Linked DNA regions of Homo sapiens: region 2 is linked to region 1. The links are contacts of gene promoters, found by promoter capture Hi-C in human tissues and cell types (Jung and others, 2019). All regions are on one chromosome and are shown on one strand. The core of a region is centred on a gene start or on the middle of the fragment in contact, and the rest is flanking DNA. Distances in the headings are between cores, read along the strand shown. Region 1 holds the start of DMTF1 (cyclin D binding myb like transcription factor 1). Region 2 overlaps GRM3 (glutamate metabotropic receptor 3).

The links. Contacts are between HindIII fragments. The study calls those that stand out against the background at their distance.
Region 2: a contact is called between a fragment that was not itself captured here and the fragment with the promoter of DMTF1 in region 1, in 1 of the 25 tissues and cell types used here (dorsolateral prefrontal cortex).

The regions. Positions count from the first base shown.
Region 1 is chr7:87,150,150-87,155,521 of GRCh38, reverse strand. It overlaps DMTF1 (cyclin D binding myb like transcription factor 1), which reads right to left and starts at 3,069. Exons shown (of 18, transcript NM_001142327.2): 1 at 2,967-3,069. DMTF1-AS1 (DMTF1 antisense RNA 1) reads left to right here and starts at 3,029. Exons shown (of 2, transcript NR_136253.1): 1 at 3,029-3,220; 2 at 3,864-4,099. RefSeq lists enhancers at 2,874-3,435, 3,281-3,520, 3,436-3,999. The HindIII fragment of the contact is 5,091 bases long and covers 1,027-5,372 here.
Region 2 is chr7:86,848,704-86,854,075 of GRCh38, reverse strand. GRM3 (glutamate metabotropic receptor 3) reads right to left here. Exons shown (of 6, transcript NM_000840.3): 5 at 3,532-3,706. Among named protein-coding and RNA genes, the nearest start is that of GRM3-AS1, 48 kb to the right of the region's middle. The HindIII fragment of the contact is 6,842 bases long and covers 1-5,372 here.

The DNA.
Region 1 (5,372 bases), core at 1,820-4,319:
TTTAATAAAAATCATTTAGTTTACCACTTTCTCGGGTCTTCTTGTATCATTTGGAGACATAAAGGAGCTGCAATTGCAAAGCATTTAAAAGTATATCAATTCCTAGGAAATCCTTTCATATAGGAAAAATATGATGGTGGTAAGAAAAAAAATGGACTATTAAAATGGAAAACTCCATTTTGGAAAGGCAGAACACCACCTCAGTGTTAAATATGCAGTCTCTACATAAGATATAAAAAAAAGTAGAATGAACCCTCCTTAAACTTTGTTCCTTTCTAAGCTTTTGATGTCTTTGCAACAGACAGATGTGTGTTTAATACAAGTGATGCAAGACGTCAATACTTTCAAAAACACTTCTAAGCTCCCTCAATATTTTAACATCTATGTGCCAGGCAGTAAATCCTTAGGAATACTTGTTTCACATTATCCCATTCATCCTCACAGGTGTTAATTTAAGCCAATGCACTTAATGAAGCATGGCAAAGGCAACTGTTTAAAATAATGAGATGTTATTTTCAGGACATGTAAGTTTATTACACCATTAATAAAAATTAGAGTCTGTAGATTTTGGAGAGATAAATGAGGCTAATAGAAAGGTAAGATTTTTTGCGGAGGAGGTAAAGGCAAGTTTTTTGTTGTTATTTAAATACTAACCAGTGATATCAAACTAACCTTATAAAATACATACACTATCTCCCCACCTTTAAAGCACCCCTGGGGTGTAATGAGATAACTAAAGGATTGAAAAAAGAGATCTCTAAAAAAAGGACTAGAGGACAGCTATCTACTTTTGATATGAGTCTCCACCAGTAAACATTTCCCAACCATGCTGTTTTCAAAGCTCAAGTCATAACGCCCAAACTTTGATTTCTTCCCCTCAAAATACTTCTAAAACCTGAACACTCAGAAAAATGTTTACATAAAATAATGTATTCATATAACTGCAACGTATGAACTTAAAGTTCTAAGAAAGATGCAATGCCCAGTACTTACTGATTAAATGTTGATGAAGACAGGGCAATAGCATTTTGGCTCCACCATTAGCTCAACTGCAACCAATTAAAGAGATTCACGCAGAATATGCAGGTGCTAAATCAGTCCCCAAAAGCATATTTTGGGGTGAGCCTATCAACTAAAATAGTAAGAAAAAAAATTAGCTTGTTTGGTGGCATACAGAAGCACCTAGTATCGAGAGTTAAAATGAGATAAAAATCACCACAATCATGAAATGTATTTTTCACACCTGTAACATAATGGTTTTTTCCAGATACAATCAGGCTGGTTTTTGTGCTTTCTGTATGGAAGAAAAAAATTATTCTCACACCAAATTGGATTCTCTCAGCATGACAATTTTTGTAACGTTAAGGAATGTAGCTTTAACCTTTTTTCTCTAAATCTTAACAGAATTTCTAAATCCTAACCAAATACATGAAATCCTGTCTCTAAGTACACCATAAGAGCAAAAAGATAAGATTTTGGTGTATCGCCATAGTCATTCTTTAAATGTTAAAGTGATGGCAAATTATTCAAGTTATTAAAAGACAGTAATCCTCAGAAAGCTATTTGAAATATAATTTCAAAACCAGCTTAAAGAAATTTGAAGTAATGAAAAAACATGAAAACCCTTAACTGAAAAAAACAGATTTTGCAATACTTTCAACATAGTGGAAGAATATTTTCGTATTTGGAGCTTAAAAGCTACAAATGGTTTTCTCCCACGAATTAAAAATACAGGTATAATTTAAAATTTTCCAAATGGCGTCACTTTAAGCTTAAGACATGTCATATTAAAAAATAATTCCACAGAATATGCATTTTGTAGGACGTCCCAACATGCAGCCTCGACTGTCAGAAAGGAGGCACACATAATCAAATCCATGTACATTAAAAAGAGGTACACAAAGATGAATGAGTTGCGAAAAAAGCAACTACACAAATTCAATGAGAGAAAGGGAGGAGTCCTGACTCATACTGTATACTATTATCCTTTTCCTTATCTACACCGAGTATTTTATATAAAGACATATGCTCTATCATTCAATTGCACAAAAGGGCACTTGGCCACTTCTACTCTCAAATCTGCTCTGGAGATTGTGGTAAAACATTCTACATACCTCCCTGAAGAAATTCTCAAAGCGAAGTACATTTTAGAGAACAAAGTGGACTTAACAATTTTAAGAACTTTCTCGGAACTCGGCACAATAGGGTAATTACAACTTTACAGCCGCATTTTCCGTGCTCCACCAGGACTGTCCCCGCGCCCCAGCCCACATCCCTTCTTTAAAGAGAGTCAGACTGAGAGAGACGGTTCGGCCAGCTATCCCGATTCTCTATGTCTGGGCCGTGAATCGCCGAGCAAGGCTGAACCCCCGCAAAATTACAGAAGAATCTAAAGCGCAAACGAGGGAAAAGAACAAAAAAGCAAAGGGGGGGAAGTTGGGTCGAGACCCACCCCCACTCTCTCGACCCCACCCAAGCCTACCTCTCCTACGCTGGACCATAAAACAAAACCGAAAACGTAACAAAAATAAAAACTAAAAATAGAACACCACGAGAAAACAAGTAGGGCTTCCTTACTGTCTCCACTCCTTCTGGCCCAGTTCTCTACTCAACCTCCCGGCCCACCCCACCCCCCAGGGGTCCCGGCGCCATTTAGCTCCTCCGAAGCCGCCGCCATTTTCCGCCCCCGCCGGATCGCCGCTGTGCCTCGGCAGCCGCTCGCTTCCCTACTCTGCAGCCTGAGCCACGGGCACCGCCCGGCCCTAAGAGGGAGGCCCTGGCCGGAACGTGCGGGGACGGCAGCTGCAACGTCAGGAAGGCCAGGCTCCGACCCCGCCCGCAGTGCCCCGGCGCCGACAGCTTGCGCCAGCCGGCGGGAGCTAGCGGGCAGCAAGGGGGCCGGACAGGCTCCACTGGGCGGAGCGGCCCTGGCGGCGGTTGGAACCTGAAGGTTCCATCGCACTTACTTCCTGTTTTGGGTCCGGGCACTTTGGAAGAACCAGGATGGAAGCTCCAAAAAATACCAGGATGGAGGAAGCAGCCACGGGCGAGAGTGGCTGCAGCTGGAGTGAGCGAGCGCGACGAGCCACCGGAAACGGAGCTGCGGCCGCGCCCCGCCCCCAGCTCCCCGCACGCTGCCCCTCCCGCTCGTCTGTCCCGCTGGCGGCCCAGCGTGCTGGCTGTACGCGTCACTTCCGGCTGTGTCGGCGCGCGAAAAAAGGTCCTGGGTTGGAATGTTTGTACTGGTCTGTGGCGGTGGTTGTCGGCTGTCCTGCCAGGAAAACTCGGCACTGACTATCCCACTGCTGATGCTGTAAAAGAGGTCCTTCTGCTATGACGCAACTGTGGTTCCTCTGGTTCTGGGGACACTTAGGCCTCGCGTGCCGATTTTCATAGTTCCCTGTGGCTCCGAGCCGAGGGAGCCGCGGTGTGGAACGGAGGGAACCAGTGATCTCAGTGCTGAAGAAAACAGGGAGTGTGTGTCTTCATACTTGATTTGCCTTACCGCAGGGGCATAATATGAGATATCTGGGCGTGTTAAGTCGTTCTTGATGAAATGTGTCCTCTGTGAATGTAGTCTCACTGTTAGACTAGGAAGATGCTGTTTTGCTGTGCCCAGTTCCTCTTAAAAGTACAGATGCTCCTTGGGTTGCAGCCGTATAAACCCATCCTAAATAGAAAACGCGTTTTAATACCCTTATAAACGAAAAGGATAAATAAGCCTTTGGGTTCTGTAATGTGAGCCAGCATTCTTTGAGTGCGTATGTGACAGGTAAATGTTTTACGTATATTAAACTCATTTAATGTTCATAAGTTCTAAGTGCATCGCTACAATTATTACAAATGAATCCCATTTTACACAGGAACCAAAGAGAAGTGAAGGAATGTGTCCAAGGGCTCCCAAGTTGGCGGTGGAATTAGAATTGAAGCCTCAGCTCCAAAGCCTGTGTTCTGAACTACCCGGTTGCAGTTCACAAAATACACTTTGGCAGTACTTTCATAACGAAAACAAATGATTACAACCAGTTTACAAATGCTTTGCTTTACTGGAGGATCGACATGTTTGACTAATTTTCAAAAATAAATCTCAGAAGCAGCATTTTCTTGTGTTGATAACTTTATTACTAATTTGTGGCACTCTGCATTCTGTTGGAGTTAAGCCGTGTATCATTCCATTTTTTAATAAGTACATAATAATGTTTATGTAAGCAAAACTATGAGGCAGAATAGTATCGTGGTATGGACTCAGGCAGTCAGACCTGAGTGTGAATCTTGGCTCCATTTCTTAGTAGTGGATATGGCACTTCACCTCTTTTAGCTTTGTTTACTTTAGGAGTAATAAGATGTACCTTCCAGAATATTGTAGACAGCGTAGTTTGCATGGAATCTGACGTGTATTAAGCATTAAAAATGGTAACTAATAAACCTTAAAGCCAGGAAAGCAATACAACTACTCAAAGAGCAGTTCTAATAAAATAATAATTACATATGCAAAATTGTTGACATTAACATTGATAAGGTGGTTCCTAATGAGCCATATTTTTCATAAGACATAACCATATAGGATTATTTTTGCTAAGGCACAAAATAGTGATATATAAATTATAGTCGGGCTATCCATTCTCCTCTGCTAAATTTTAGGTCAGCCTGCACGCTGCTAACTCCCCGCAAAAAGTCAAGTGCATCCTCATAACTAAATTCTCCCTTTCTGGTTGAGTTTCTTTTATAACTACCTTTTCCCAAGTCAATTGGTATTTATTTGGGGATGACAAATGTATTTTAATATTAGCTTAATGCATAATTTAAAAAAATATAATAACGTCTCTATCCCTTTAGCTTGAATAATCAATGTAAAGACTATCCATAACACAACTTGATTCCTAGAGCAATTTTCTGCAGTTATACTTCTATGTTATCCGTACCTCATTATTTAGTCAATGTGTACCTAGGGAATGGATGAGGTTTTAAATATTATCCAAGGATTTACCTATTTAGGAATTAAATGTTTTGTAGAAAAATCATTAGAAGTATTTCTATCCTAAACAATAATTATTAAAGTATTTATAGCTTAGCTATGGTATTTACTGCATTTGCTAGTTAAAATTGACTTTGTTGGACTCCAGGTGTCTATAACACTTTTGTGAACCTCATCAGTGATTGATGATGAAATTGCCTTTTATGACAGGTTGATATATTAATATAAAGTATTTCAAATACTGAGAAGCAGGTTCTGTTGTTTCATGATCATCTTTTGCTAATTCAGAAAAAAAAAAGATGTTTATAAGCTTTTGTTCAAAGTAAAAGAAAATTACAATTACTGAGTAATTTTCTTTCTACACAGGCTCTGAGTCCTGTTAATATAGCTGATGGGT
Region 2 (5,372 bases), core at 1,775-4,274, 300 kb after region 1:
CTATGCACTTCCCATTGAATCTGAGCTTCGATAAATAAGTATGGTACCAATTATGCTATACCAGTTTCCTGGCCAAGCCAGTTTCTACTTCCTTTTTTTATGGAACTTGCTCATTAGGAGCCAACATGGACAGGCTTCCTGCCAAGATGCCAGGAATAAGAGTGAAAGCATCATGGATCTTCCAGATCAGCTCAGTCTCTGCTTAAAACCATGAAAGAACGTCAGCCTCATGGAGCAGATGAACCAAGCCCTGTCTGAATTCCTGACTTGTAAACTGTAAGAGATAATCATATAAAGAGGTATTGTTTTAAGCCTTTAAGTTATGGAGAAGTTTGTTATGCAGGAATAGATAAAGTGGAGGAAACGCGATAACTCTGTTTCCATATTAGCTTACTCTCATCTCTACAGTGGGTTTTGTTTTACCTCTGAAGAGAAAGTCAGAAAACCAGCAGCAATATTAACAATCGCCCAATGAAATAAAGTGCTAACATTATACTCACTGGAAGAACGTGAATTATGTACAACCCAAGAAAAACATATGCTTTATCTAATGAACGCAGAGCAGTTTAAGGAATGTTCTTGATTTCTAAAGCAACATACTTCCAAGTATTTAGGAGGGAAATGGATATAAATTGAGCTGAATATACAATAGAGGAAACAGACACTAAGATATTAAATAATTGCTTCAATTCTACCAAAGTGGGTCAGTAACATGTTCATACACAGAACTCAATTCCATAGACCACTGGCCTTTAAACATCTTTGATTGTGATCTATAGAAATAAATACATTTTACCCGGACCTGGTATACATATACATATAACTCTTCATGACTTACCTTTTATGCCTTACCTTTATTACATGTAATGCACTCTTAAGATTTTCTGTTTTTTTCTTTTAAAAAGCACTGGCCAAAGATACTAAATTTCATGACCCAATAATGGCTTACAGTCTACAGTATGAAAACCACTGTCCTAGACACCAAGCTTCATGGGGCCAGGGATTCCGTCCTATTCGTTACTGTGTACACAGTGCTTAGAAATTTTTGGTGTGTAGTAGGTACTCAATAATTTAATGAATGAATAAATTTCTTGATATGAAATACTTCCAACTTATTAAAATGGGAAAGTTTTTAATTGAAAGTCAGGAAATCAGGCTCAACTCTTGACTCTTGTATCACTGTATATCCTTGAGAAGTAACTTCAATTCTCAATTTTCTTACCTATAAAATAGAACTTGTGATATCTGGTACTCATGAGGATAAAATGAGTTCATGAATATAAAACTACTTTGAATAAAAGAGTAAAAATGCAAATAACAGGTGAATGTATTTGTTACTTATGCACGTTAAAATGCCAAGAGATGTTATATAAAATCTTCACTTTGTTACATGGTACTACTTCATTGATTTGTATTGATTAGGGAAATATTGCTGAAACAATGAGGTCTGAATTTAGACCTTTTTTAAAAAAAAGTTTATTTATAATTTTATTAACAAGACATTCCAACAATGTTCAAACACCTGTCTTGAAGTACTAATTGGGTCACTATCAGATTAGCATACTGAATAATAGTTTAACAGGTCTGCTGTGGTTGCAGTACATTGTTTTTATGTAGATGGATATTTCTGAATTTCTAACAAGAGACTTGATTGGAGAAAGTGCCCTTGCTATCCCTTCTGGAATTTGTTAATTCCCAGCATATGCATTAGAAAATTCTGCCATTTCTAAATTACTGAGGTCTGGATATACGCAATTTTGAATAACGTCTATGGAAGACTTATGGACTCTGCTAAATTGTTCTAATAACAAGCAAAAGTTCTGAGCTAGCAATGAGACAATTTTGCTTGGATAACCTTCTTTTTATTCTCTCTGCAAAGCCTGGCCATGAGAACTTTCCCAGCTTGCTGTCTGGAAGAGGCTGCACGATACAGTAGTTAGGTGCACTGGCTTTGAAATCATAGGAACTGACTCTAAATTCTGTTTCTGCCATTTTTAAAGTGTGTGACCCTGGGTGAGTTTCTTTACCTTAAGGGGTTGGAGCATTGAATAAGACAGCACACACATACACACATGTGTGTAAAGTATTTAGCATGGTGCCCAGCATATGAAAAACACTCAACAAATGAAAGTTCCTGTTACCTGTTGTTAATATTTTTATTAGTTATTGACAGTTCTCTCTGGGCTGGACTAGGTAGCTGTTAAGATTAGTCTGCTAAAAAGAGCTTTGTTTGCTCAAGAAATCAACATATTTCTCTAAGATCCATGGAAAACGACCTCACAGGCTTTGCCATGCCCTGAAGCTCAACTTTTGTGACACGTTGGAGTTTAGCTGGAAAGACAGGAATGTGCAGCCTATCCATGAACATGTGCTCTCAGACTGTCAGTCTTCCTTCAGTTTCCTGGGGGAAGGGCTGCCCTGTTAAATTCTGTACTTTGGTAGAGAAATTGGGGCGCTAATGTGATTGCTGACCCTGTGATGCTGAGCTATTTTGAAGTATCCTTTCTGATCAACTCGAGGCAAAATTGTGAAGCAGTCATTTGTCTCTGTCACTTTCTGTCCTCCCTTCCCCTCTCATGGTTCCAGTTCTTTTCTTCCCCCTCATCCAGTGTCAGTGAATTGCTTCTACTTCATACCACAATTTAGCTGAAAATGGCTTAAAAGGTTATCCCCTTCAGGCACATTTGTGCTTTAGAGAACTCTAAAGAATTAAATCAATGATTCTCTAAGGATAGTGTTTCAGACATTTGCAGGCCAGTAGCAGAGAGAATTAGGGACTGGGAACTATCCTAGTATCCTTCAGTTCACACTGCCTTCTAAGCTGAGAAAACATTGTGTCATTGAAGTAGGAGGAAGATCTATTCCAGCATTTTCCAAGGTGTGTTCCACGGGATGTTAGTTTTACTGTGATAAAATATTTTTAAAAGTATTTTAACTTTTAACAAAGTTAAACAGGTTTTCTTGCATAGAGATTCTCAAAACCTATAACACACTCATGTTAAAGGAAGTACTGTAAACTTCCAAGGGGGAATTAGGAATGTAGCACTTTTCATTGTATTTTATTATCTTCCCCTTTTAATTTTTCATGAAGCTCCTTTGGCATCTGTGTGACATATAATATATTTTATAAAACACCAATCTAGCCCAGTCCCCTATTTTAATTAGTAAAATGAGGCAGAAAGCAATAGAGTGACTTGTTTGAAGTTATCTATTAAATTGAGTGCAGAACAGGACGAGAGACCAGGTTATCTAACCCCACAACATGGTCAAACCCCTCACTGCAGCTATGTATTTAATGTCTTTGTTCCCTGCTAGACTGTATGTGCTGCCCAAACAGAAACTTTGACTTCTTTGCTCCTTACTGAATCCCCAGCACTTAGCACAATACCTGACTCACAGTGTTTAAATCCATACTTAGTAAAATCGAATTGAGATTGTTCATGGGGACAGACATGTGTTGCCTGTTCTTGGCAGGCTGGTCCTGACTACAATGCTATGTATGAAGGAGTTAGTGCTGAGTTCCATACTTACACTGAGAGTATGTGGTCCCAGTTCCACTGACACTGAACCTGTTGAGGTGCAGTCTGTGTGTGACAACATTCTTCTGGGGTTGAAACAGGATGATGTGAACCTTGGGTGCAAACAAACAGCCCAAGACCACAAAGCCACTCAGGCTGACAGAGATGCACATGGTTGTCGTCTGCACCTACAAGAGAAGGTTGGCTAGTAAGTGTCTGGCTGTACATTCAGTCAAGTGGCCAACTAAAGAGAGTGCTGAAATAAGACCAAAATGAAAAATCCAGAATAATTGACAGCTCTGTCCTTATTGTAGCCAAATCAATACAGTAATTATATTGAATCTTCTATGTTTGGGGTAGTCTTGGAAATATTGCTTAGGATTTGCAAGCAAACACCATTTGTGTGGGGTGCTTCTGAATGCTTGCCAAGACTTCACATGGATTTTCTTGTTTGTTTTCTTTATATTTTTATAAAGATATTTCTGCAAAGCCACAGAAGGTGGAATCTTAAATAGTAAAACATATTCAATGATGAAGTGGCCAGATTGCTGATGATTTCAGTCTATGAACTTGGCTTCTTTAAGATTTAAGGTTATTATAAACAAATTTGTTTTGTTTGTTTGTTTGTTTGTTTTTTACATTCTTCTATCTCCCTTGCTTGCTGGAAGCTCTGCCTATCAGCTACTGGTTTCCCTATTCTTTGTTGGGGATCACTGTCAGCTTTCTTCTGTGGTACCTTTGCTTTTGCTTATTGGCATCTCTGGAATTTTGATTCATCAGGTACTAACTGTTCAATCTTCATGTTCTCTAGGCTTCTATACACCCATTCTTGACAGGTAATTTTCACTTCTCCCTCTTTGTTTACCCTGAAAGTTCCTCAGAACCAGGGTTTATCATGTCTTCTCATTCTCATCCCAGAGTAACTTTAGATTTTTTTCCTTTCCCCTTAGGCACATGCTATTATAAAGTAGCATAATTTCAAATGTCCTAAATGACTTTAGGCATCTATAAAACATTTCTGTAAAGTCTCTGACCTTCCTCTCTAATCAAGGAAAGCTGAAGACTGAACACATAACTGGAGAAGCCACATAATTTTAGAATGCTTCATTTTACTTTTGATTTTTAAAAAAAATTCAGCCTGCCCTGTGGCATAATTCTTTAGGCCTTGCTTACTTTGAATCCTGAAAGCATAATCCATCCTCGTCATTTTAAAGTTCTTGTCTCTCTTAACTAGTCCAGTGCTCTCCACCTTGGGACCCCTAATTGCAGGCTCCTTTCTTGTCAAATTCTCAGAAAACAAGCTGCTATCTGATTCTGTGATGCAAAAGCCTTCATAAATCTGAATCTGGGACAATTTGTTTTCTACGTATATGTATAATATGATGTTAGCATTGTCCTCTTTCTGCCTCAGTTCCTGCCTATGACTCTGAAGCCAGTGTGAAGGATATCAGAGATCATGGGAGGGGGAGACAAATCCAAATTTGCAAAATTTCCAGGAAACCTTTTCTAAAAGCATTTCTGTAACTCTTAAAACTACTCACACACTTTAAGACATTACAAGAAGAGGTGAGGAGAGGCTTTTAGGAGGAGGGGATCTTGGGCAAAGCTGTACTGTGATTTTTGTCTCCTCGCTGAAAGCCTAGCAAGGAGTGCTTCAGTGTGGCCATTTACAAAAAGTCAGGTGTTTCTGCAGGAAGAGGATGCCCTGAATTGGGACCTGATTCCTGCCTTGGAAATCTAGAAGGTGAGGAAAAGGCTAGTTGCTCTATTGGCATTGCATAAAACTTGCTACTGTCTTGAGGTAGTCCTTTGTTCTGAGAATTTATCAAAGCAAAGGTTATGTGAATGGTATGC